2 separate regions of the Homo sapiens genome follow, and region 1 is linked to region 2. The links are contacts of gene promoters, found by promoter capture Hi-C in blood cells and fetal thymus (Javierre and others, 2016). All regions are on one chromosome and are shown on one strand. The core of a region is centred on a gene start or on the middle of the fragment in contact, and the rest is flanking DNA. Distances in the headings are between cores, read along the strand shown. Region 1 holds the start of AGAP2-AS1 (AGAP2 antisense RNA 1). Region 2 holds the start of DTX3 (deltex E3 ubiquitin ligase 3).

What was found. The method cuts DNA at HindIII sites, captures the fragments that hold promoters and counts their contacts. A CHiCAGO score of 5 or more calls a contact.
Region 1: the fragment with the promoter of AGAP2-AS1 here is called in contact with the fragment with the promoter of DTX3 in region 2 in 1 of 17 cell types (M1 macrophages); the score reaches 6.0 in M1 macrophages.

What each region holds. Positions count from the first base shown.
Region 1 is chr12:57,724,156-57,728,616 of GRCh38, reverse strand. It overlaps AGAP2-AS1 (AGAP2 antisense RNA 1), which reads right to left and starts at 2,377. Exons shown (of 2, transcript NR_027032.1): 1 at 2,239-2,377; 2 at 261-1,652. AGAP2 (ArfGAP with GTPase domain, ankyrin repeat and PH domain 2) reads left to right here. Exons shown (of 19, transcript NM_001122772.3): 14 at 240-299; 15 at 532-680; 16 at 846-936; 17 at 1,035-1,257; 18 at 1,388-1,643; 19 at 1,823-3,420. The coding sequence ends at 2,065. RefSeq lists enhancers at 526-1,159, 1,160-1,795. The HindIII fragment of the contact is 18,142 bases long and covers 1-4,461 here.
Region 2 is chr12:57,601,626-57,606,484 of GRCh38, reverse strand. DTX3 (deltex E3 ubiquitin ligase 3) reads right to left here and starts at 1,661. Exons shown (of 7, transcript NM_178502.4): 1 at 1,627-1,661; 2 at 754-914; 3 at 233-295; 4 at 1-42. PIP4K2C (phosphatidylinositol-5-phosphate 4-kinase type 2 gamma) reads right to left here. Exons shown (of 10, transcript NM_024779.5): 10 at 3,067-4,859. RefSeq lists enhancers at 1,267-1,779, 1,780-2,291. The HindIII fragment of the contact is 28,357 bases long and covers 1-4,859 here.

The DNA of each region.
Region 1 (4,461 bases), core at 1,128-3,627, 120 kb before region 2:
ACCCAGGTTCCAGATCTGCCTACTCTCATGGCTCTTGGCTTCTGTTCCACTCTGCTCCGGGGCCACTGACTTTAGTTCTGCTTTCTCTCCCCATCTGTCTGTCCTGCTTTGTCTCTGGCACTCTGTCACTATCTCTCTCCATCTCTCCATCTACCTGTCTTTTTCTCCTTCTTTCTTGGTCTCTCTTTCTCTGTTCTGCTCTCCATTCTATCTCTATCTCCTTCGCTTCGGGAAACCAGCCAAGCGCAAAATGTGGAAACTAAAATCCTTTGGTAGTTTAAGAAATATTTATAAAGCAGGTAACAAGTGGGGAGCCGGGAGGGGCGCTCAGCTGGGGTGCAGAAGGGTGGGGGTGCCCCCGCCTTCCCCTGCATGTGCTCGGGCTTCCTGCTGCCCCCCACCCTCTGCTTTCCCTACCCCCACTGCCCCACTCCCAGGGGCTCGGGATGGACATCAGGGAGGACGGTCTTGGGAAAGGCAGCCCCTGCTTGAACTCTGTCCCTTAATGACCCCATCCCATCCCCCACTCAGAGGAAAACTTTGAGTTCCTGATCGTGTCCAGCACGGGTCAGACGTGGCACTTTGAGGCAGCCAGTTTTGAGGAGCGGGATGCCTGGGTCCAGGCCATCGAGAGTCAGATCCTAGCCAGTCTGCAATGCTGTGAGAGCAGCAAGGTCAAGGTAAGAGTTTGAGGTGGAGTGGAGGACTGGCCGCAGGAACTGACCCTGGTGCTGACGGCCATTGGCAACGACACGGCCGAAGTCGTGTGAGAGGAGAGCAGAGGTGTCTGAGAAGGAGGTGGGGCTTGGAGGCAGAGTCAGTGCCAACCCAAACCCTCTCTGCAGCTGCGCACAGACAGCCAAAGCGAGGCCGTGGCCATCCAGGCGATCCGGAACGCCAAGGGGAATTCAATCTGCGTGGACTGCGGGGCCCCCAGTGAGTGCCAGGAGGCAGCGGAGGGGCTAGGGAGTGTAGTGAATGCCGGGGTGCCTGTGCTGCCCGGCTGGGAGCCGACCTCTACGCTCCTTCCGCAGACCCCACGTGGGCCAGCTTGAACCTGGGCGCCCTCATCTGCATCGAGTGTTCTGGCATCCACCGCAACCTGGGCACACACCTGTCCCGCGTTCGCTCGCTGGACTTGGACGACTGGCCACGGGAGCTGACCCTGGTGCTGACGGCTATTGGCAACGACACGGCCAACCGCGTGTGGGAAAGCGACACGCGAGGCCGTGCCAAGCCCTCGCGGGACTCTTCGCGGTAAGCGTGAGGGAACAGAGCGGGGGGAGGGTTGCTGAGGGTGTGCGAACCTGAGACGGTCCCGTGGGTAGGGGCAGAAGTCCTGGCTGGGGGTCCCTAGAGCCTTTTCCGTTGATCCCTGGTCTTGCAGGGAGGAGCGCGAGTCGTGGATTCGCGCCAAGTACGAGCAGCTACTGTTCCTGGCGCCGCTGAGCACCTCGGAGGAGCCGCTGGGCCGCCAGCTGTGGGCCGCCGTGCAGGCCCAGGACGTGGCTACCGTTCTCCTGCTTTTGGCCCATGCGCGACACGGGCCGCTCGACACCAGCGTAGAGGACCCACAGCTGCGCTCCCCACTCCACCTGGCGGCCGAGCTCGCCCACGTCGTCATCACGCAACTGCTGCTGTGGGTACGTGAGCTGGGGGGAGGAAAGGGGGTCTTTGAGGCTTCATCTCGGAAAACGCCTGGCGCGGGAAAGCCCGAAATTCCCAGAGGGACCCCGGAAGTAGGCTTGGCCATGTGGGGGAGGCGGCGCCGGGTGTGGGCGCCCTGGGGACGCGCGGTCACGCGGCCGTTTCCGCCCTCTAGTACGGCGCGGACGTGGCGGCCCGTGACGCCCAGGGCCGCACGGCGCTGTTCTACGCCCGCCAGGCTGGAAGCCAGCTGTGCGCCGACATCCTTCTCCAGCACGGCTGCCCGGGTGAGGGCGGCAGCGCGGCCACCACGCCCAGCGCGGCCACCACGCCCAGCATCACCGCCACGCCCAGCCCCCGCCGCCGGAGCAGCGCCGCTAGCGTGGGCCGCGCCGACGCCCCGGTTGCGCTGGTATAGTTGCCCAGCGGGAGAGACACCCCCATCCCCACGCGGGCCGGGCACGACCACACCGGGCGGACCGCTGGACAGACGCACCCACTCACCTCTCCGATCCGCACCCCGCCCCACGGGAGCACTTCCTACCCCCACGAGGGCACAGCCCCCACGCCTTCCAGAAGACACAAACTCACCTCCCTCTCCCCAACGAGGCATGGAGACCCCAGCTCAACACGCCCCCTCTCCATTGTTTCCACACTCGGATTGCTCTGGGTCTACCCGCTCGGGGTTCGCGGAAGGGGAGGTCCCCAGCGGTACGGGCTCCTAGGCGCTTGGACATGCCCGCTTGTGCCCCCTAGGGGCGGAAAGAAGACCCGGTCCTGCCCGAGCTCAACAATCCCAGGGCGGGAGCCCATACCCAGGCTGGCTCCTGGGGCGACGCCACGCCAGAGGGAGGGTTTAGTACATGGGAGGGCTAGCCCCGGGACTTGGGGCCAATACGGAAACCCTACCCCTTCCATGCTCATCTCACTGCCCAGTGAAGGGGGCAAGGGCAGCGAGGGGCAGGACCCCTGCTGCTCATGGGGGTGGGGGTTCCCAACCCTTTCCGTGAAAGGGACCGTGAGTAGTGGAAACCAGGACGTCCCCTACACCTACCCATGGGTGGAAGCTAAAGAGTCCGGGGGGAACCAAGAGCCTGGGTCCCTCCCACTACTATCTTGGGAGGGAGAAGGGATGGAGCAGGAGCGGGCTAAGAGGGCTGCGGGGGCCTTGTAATTTATTGCTTTGTTCCCCAACATGGGGATGGGGGCGGGCAGGGGCGTGGGGAGGGCGTTTTGGGGTAGGGGAAGCCCAGGGTGGGCAGGGGGTGGGTTGGGGTGGGGGTGCTCTCGGGTTGTGTCTGTGACCGTGACTGCGTACCTGTGACTGTGCAGCGCCCGTGGTGATCTGGGGTAGGGGGCACCCCTACAGTGGGACCCCTCCCCCATTATTCTTTCTGTCCAGCCCCTCCCTCCCACTGGAGCAGCTCCAGAGCCATTCCTCACCCCCGTGACCTCTCCCAGCCAGGGCTGAGAGGATTCGAGGTGGCTGGGAGGGTTTCCAGGCCCCCTGCCCCTTCCCCACAAACTGGGTGATAGGGCGGACTTACCTGGCCCAGCCCTGCCTCCCTCAGCCAACCCAGCCCTTGGGCTGTCTGTGTCAGTGGTTTCCGGTCTTTTTTTTTTTTTTTTTTTCTGGCTAAAATAGTTTGCAAAGGACCAGGTAATTGGGGAGGGGAGAGAGGTGGGGGCAAGGGGGAAATGCCCCCCCATCTCCTTGGAGGCAGTGGTGTGAATCTTCTTCAACAGCAATTAAAGAGGAAGTGATTTTGTCTAGGGGGTGAGCTGCTGGTCTGTTCTTGGAGGCAGGTCAGGGCATGGCCTTGGTCAAGATGGGGTACTGGGGTTGGACAGGGACAGGCAGAGGTGCCTCCCACTGGGGCTGGTGGCAGGACAGTACCCATGGGCATGGAGGTGGTTCCATCATGTACAACAGTTCTGGGTTCATGTAGTGGAGGACGTGGGCAGGTTGGAGTCAGTGGGGACCCTGGGAACAGAGAAGGCACTGACTCTTAAGATGATGCCAGTCCTGGGAGAGTTGGGATATGGTACTTAGAGGAGAGGACAGGCCCATGGAGAGGGGTGGGAAGATGGGACAGCTTTGTTTAAGAGCAGGAACTTTGGAGACAGATCTGATTTTGAAACCTGCCCCTCCACTGCACAGCTAGGGGACCTTGGTGGCATCTGTTTATCTGTATTCTGAACAGTATCTGTTCAGAGGGCACCTGAAAGGCGCTCCAGCTCTGAGGAGGGCTGCCCCGAGCCAGCCTGCTCACCGTGAGCACTAGGTACCAGAGTAGAACATAGAGTAGGGGTTCCTCCCCTGGCCTCGTCAGGGGGTGTTCCAGAGGGAAGGGGTGGGAGACCTCCTGGGAAAGATTTCCCAGCTAGCTGCAGAGGTCCCTGGTGTCCACAAACTCAGTGTCAGCTGATGCAGGCATTTATCCACCTCCGTGCCATCAAAGGGACCACCAAGGCCACAGCGGCCTGAAGCCGGTGCTGCCTCCATGAGCTGCAGTGCCACTAGGCTCAGCACATAGCCAATCCTACCATTTCTCGAGGGCAGCTGAAAGTGTTTACTCAGGTAGAGGGGCTGGACAGGGTAGGGTTGGGTCAGCAGCCAGTGCAGGTTGGGCACAGCCATATGTTGTTATCTACCTTGAGGAGTTAGTTGGTAGCACCAGCATCTTTGGGTAGAATTGCTTCTGACCCTTGGTGCCCACCAGCCCCAAGAGGTTCAGCTGCAAGTGTGCCACTGAACTGAGGACACAGCACCAGACCTGAATCCAGTTCACATGGAGGCTGCGGCTCTACAGG
Region 2 (4,859 bases), core at 412-2,911:
CTCACTCTTCTTTCCCTGCTCCCTACTTGTAGGTCGTGTGACCTGGTAGGGCGGAAAAATGGAAGGAAAGTGAGAAACCCCTTCTCCCAATTCCCATGGCCCCCAACCCAGCAGCCCATGGAACAGAGACAGAAACCTGGGTATAGGTTACTAAGAATGGCATTACTTGGAACATGGAATGAAGGAAACCAGTTTAAGGGTGAAAATTGAGGATCCCTTGCGGGGGAGATACCTGGAAAGCCCATGGAAGATGATGGCAGCAGAAATCCTTCTATTTCCACTCAGCTGACCAGGACTGGGAGTGGGGGAAGGGTAAAAAGTTATGATGGCAAATGTTACCATTCCCCTCAGCCAACCCAGAAATAAAAACTCCCCTTCCATCTCCTCTCTTCTCTGCAGAATTCCATTATCAGCTTCTCCCCAAGTTGCTCAAGAAGGAACTTCAACATGCTAACCTTCCTCCTTTCTTCCCCAGCTCTGAGGCCCCCAAGAAAGCCTAGGGCACACATAAGAGAAGTCAGGAAAGAAAACGCCCACACAGGTGGAGGTCTTCTTGCCACCTCCCTCAGATCACATGGACCGGAATATTTCCTATGCTCCCCAACTCCTCGCCTGCTCCACATTGCCAAATAATTCAGCCCCTATTGCCAGGGAGCCTTCCTTGAGAGCTAACTCAGTCCCTTCTGCTGAAGTCTGTTAAGGATGTGAACAAAGTGGCAGCAGCCCCTGCAATAACAAAGTTCTCATTGTCACCTTTTAAACCCAGCACAGGCAGTGCTGTCTGTCAGCTCCCAAGTCTGGCATTTAGGGAGGGGCGGGGCTCACACAAGGGCTCAGCTGGAGGGGCCTGATGTTTTCCCTGAGTCTGGTCGCATTGGGCTACGGGGCTGTCTCCACAACACTTCCAAATGCAGCTCAAACAGAAAGAAGGGCCATTAGTGTGACCTCCATTTATTGACTGATCCAAGAAGGAGCAGCTGTCCCTTCATGCCTCCATCATCGTCCCCCAAGGCCAGATGCACCTCGAGATTCATAAGTGAAAATGGAACCCTAGAGTCTCAGCCCATACAGTCTATCCGCGATGCAACACTTCTCTCCCCATCACGGGGGACCCAGGACCTAGGTGTCCTAGGTCCAAGTCCTGCTGGCACAGAAAAGGGAGGCGGGGCCCCAGTTTAGGGTGGGTCTGTGATTCCTCTGTGGCAACCCAGGCCGGACAAGGAACCAGTCTCTCCCTCCAGACAGAGGCCAGAGGGAGGCACAGCCCGGATGGGCAAGGGTCCCTGGGGGCATCCACTGAAGCAGCTCCCGCCCTCCCCCCACGGCCTCCTCCAAGACCCGACCCGGAACCAACTCCCCACATCCCTCAGTAGCCAAAGCCCCCGGATCCCCACCGCCGGGTGGGGGTGCATGTCGGCCCGATCGCAGCCCTCAGAACCCCCGAATGGAGGCCAAGGCTGGAGGGTGCTAGAAAGATGATCGGCCGGGCACGGAGCGGGGAGCCCGGAGCCGCGCGCGGGGAGGGGAGGTGGAGGAGGGGGCGCCGGGGGAGCGGGGGGCGCGTGAGGGGTGCGAGCGGGGCCCGGGGGGCGCGCGGTGGGTGTGGGGGGCGCCGGGCTCACCTACCTCTCGTCAGCGCCGCCATTGCCGGTCACATGACTGAGGCTGTTGCTGGGATGACGGTCCGGGCCTTAGCAACAAGGAGGGGGAGACCCCGAAAGGTGGGGGATTGCAGGGGGTGCAGGCTGAGGAAAAGGGAAGGAGGGAGGACAGCACCCCCTTTCCCCTCACAGGTGATAATCACCGTTCCTTTGACCCCCTTCTATCCGCAAGCCCCTGCCCTTCCTCCCCAAAACAAAAATGGAGGCGCTGTCCCAGTCTTTGGAGGGAGGGGGTGGCGTCATGGAACTGAGGGTAGGAGGTTAAATCCCTGGAGACGCCACCCTACTCGCTCCCCGCTCCCGGCGGAGCACTCTCCCTTTTCTTTCCCAGCCAGCTGCGTAGCAGCTCCCAGGAGCTGGTGGTGGATGGGTGGGTGAAGTGTTGGTGGGTATATGGGGATTCGGGGGGAGGGCGGCAATTTTTTGAATCCTTATGGTAGAAGGGCCTTTGAGGAACAATGTGGGATGGGAAGAGTCATAGTAAAAAGAAAAGCATTGGCTCTAAAAAATAAACAAATCCGGGTACTAAACTATTTCAATCCCCTCCCTCATCTCCTGCCTCTTTCTAGATTGTTACCTCCTATGACCCCCACAACCTGCTCTCAGATGATCATTGGTCAGTGCCTCTGATTTTTCTTTCCACAAACAGGGATATGGAGGCTGGTGCAGAATGGGAAGCGAATACATTTTTTAAAAAGTGGCTCGAGGTGGTGGTGGTGTCAAGTGTATGGTTCAAATAGAGTTAAAAACTCTCAAAGAAGAAAAAAAAAAAGCTCTGCTCTGCTTCCCACATCAAGCAGTCTCCGCCCAATCCAACTCACTTCCCTGGGGCCACATCAAGCCAGGTTTTTCCACCAGCCAAAAGACTTCCTCAGCCAAGACAGGCAGGAATCTCCCAAACTGGCAACAACCTCTATTCATCCACCCCTTTTTCACTCCCCCCTCTAGACTGGAGGGCTAGTCACTTTCTTCACTTTCCCAGGACCCTGCTGTACTCTTCCTTCCCTCCAGGAAGAGGACAGCTTTCCCAGGAAGCCTGGGGGAATACTAGATTCCTTTTCTTTTAGCTGGTGGGCTGAGAGGCCTACTCACCTTTACAAAGATGGAGTGTTAGCAAGCCCAGAACTCTGGGAAGAGGAAGGGTCCCATCACCCTACTCTTCCCTGGCCCTCACTACCGCTGACCTCCCACAAGGTTAAAGACTAAGTTTTCCATTCCCGTGCACACCCTTCACAGCCTTTTTAAAAAAGTTCACAGCCATCTGTCTAGAAACCCACATCCTTAGTTAGGGGCCCAACACCTTGAACACCAGAATTCTTCAGCTGGTCTCTGCACCCTTAAACACAGGCTCCCTGAGAGAAGTGAAATTTAAAAAAAAAAAAAAAAAGGCATTTCTGTACAGAAATTTGGATTGAATAATTTATTCCCTGTATTATTATAGTAACAGGAGCAAATACATAAATTTTTATTAATAAAACAAAAAAGATGAAAAACAGAAGCAACAAATGAAGACATCCATACTGCCCATAACACATCAGCCATATGATCAGAAAACCCATTTCTAAAGAGCAATGGTTGCTGGTGTCACAGAGTTTTATTGCATTCATCGGGGGAAAGGGAGATGGTTGGAATGAAAAAGATCCATCAGTCTTCTGACAGGAAGATGTTATATGGGGGCTCCAACCCCTAACTGGGTACTCCTCTTGCTACCACCTTTGGAGCAGAAGATGAAGGGGAGAGGGAGCTTCTCCCTATGGCCTCATGGCTTCTTGTGAGACAGATCAGTCCAGCCAGATACAGAGCAAAGCAGCTTTGCATCACCACAGGCCAGTTGCTGATGCCCAGCTTTATGTCTAAAAAAAAAAAAAGTGGAAGCCTCAAGGGGGATGGAGGATAGCAAGAAGAATGGGTGCCTTGGCCCCAGAGGCATTGTAGGGAGAGGAAGACAATGTATCTCATCAGGGTTCTCAACATTATGAGATTATCACACATCAACTATCTTTGGAGGGGCTGAGTGATTGAGTTATGGCTCTGACTCCTCTCTGGGGGTGGAGAGTGAAGATGACAAAGAAGGCCATCTGTCCCCTAGGAGACACAGTTGCAGTATAAGACAGGACAGAAGAGAACAGAAAAACAAATCCAACTGGAAAAAGGGGTGGGAGAAGGAAGTGTGCTAGGTACACACATCCAGGGAGTAGGGGAAGTTCCCACACTTGAGGCCTCCATCCTCTTGAAATGACCAGAATTGATCCAAGTAGAGATATTCCTTTCTTCTGGAAATAAACCTTGGGGATGGCTAGGCAGGATGAAAGGAAACTTTACATGGAGAATGAATCCTACACCCTGGCCCATCATTCCAGCCTCCAAAACTGGCCACACACCCACTGAAGGGTTCCAGTCCCAGGAGAGGTGTGAGGTTCTGGTGAAGAGCAGCAATAGTCAAACATCTTCCCCCAGGCTTGAATGCTTTTGGCCATCTCTGGGTTGCTGTGCCCAGATGTAGAGATGGGTGGAGATGGAATTGAGGTAAGGGAAGAGATTACTCAATCTATGACAGAGACCCAATCCAATTCTCTGCATAATCATGAGTCCTCTTAGGTCCCACCTCTGTGAGGTGCCAGGCTGCTGACCCACTCTCTACCCCACCTGTGTAGGAATGGCCATATTCCATCGTGTGTGTGCATGCCTGCACCCACATCTGTAGTATCTTGAGTGTCATCCATCCTAGGGCCCACCAGGAGGGAAGCATGCCATAGTGAGTTTTATAAAGTTATCAGCAAAATTCAGACACTTTTAGTTCATCCCACACAGCAAAGTGCATCCAGAGTAGTTGCTTGAGCCAGGTCCATCTGTCCAGTCAGGTCCTGAAGAAGGCAAACAACCCCCTTCCCCTAGCTCCTATATCATAGAAACAACAGGAGATATTACAAAGATCAAGGCACTTGGGAGAGAGTCAACAATAACATTCTAATACTACAAGCAGACTTCTCATGGGGAGGAAGAGAGGGAAGAAAAATGGGCAAAGAGGAAAAAGGACAATGTATTTCTGAGGGTCAGAAAGAGCCTACTCGACAGGATGGAGTTATCTGGATGGAAGGAGCCTGCAGCCTGAATTTAGCAAAGGAAGAAGAGAACTGGTGGCTAGAATATCCCCACAATTCCCCCAAGTGTCTCAGAACCCCACCACCTTGAACATCA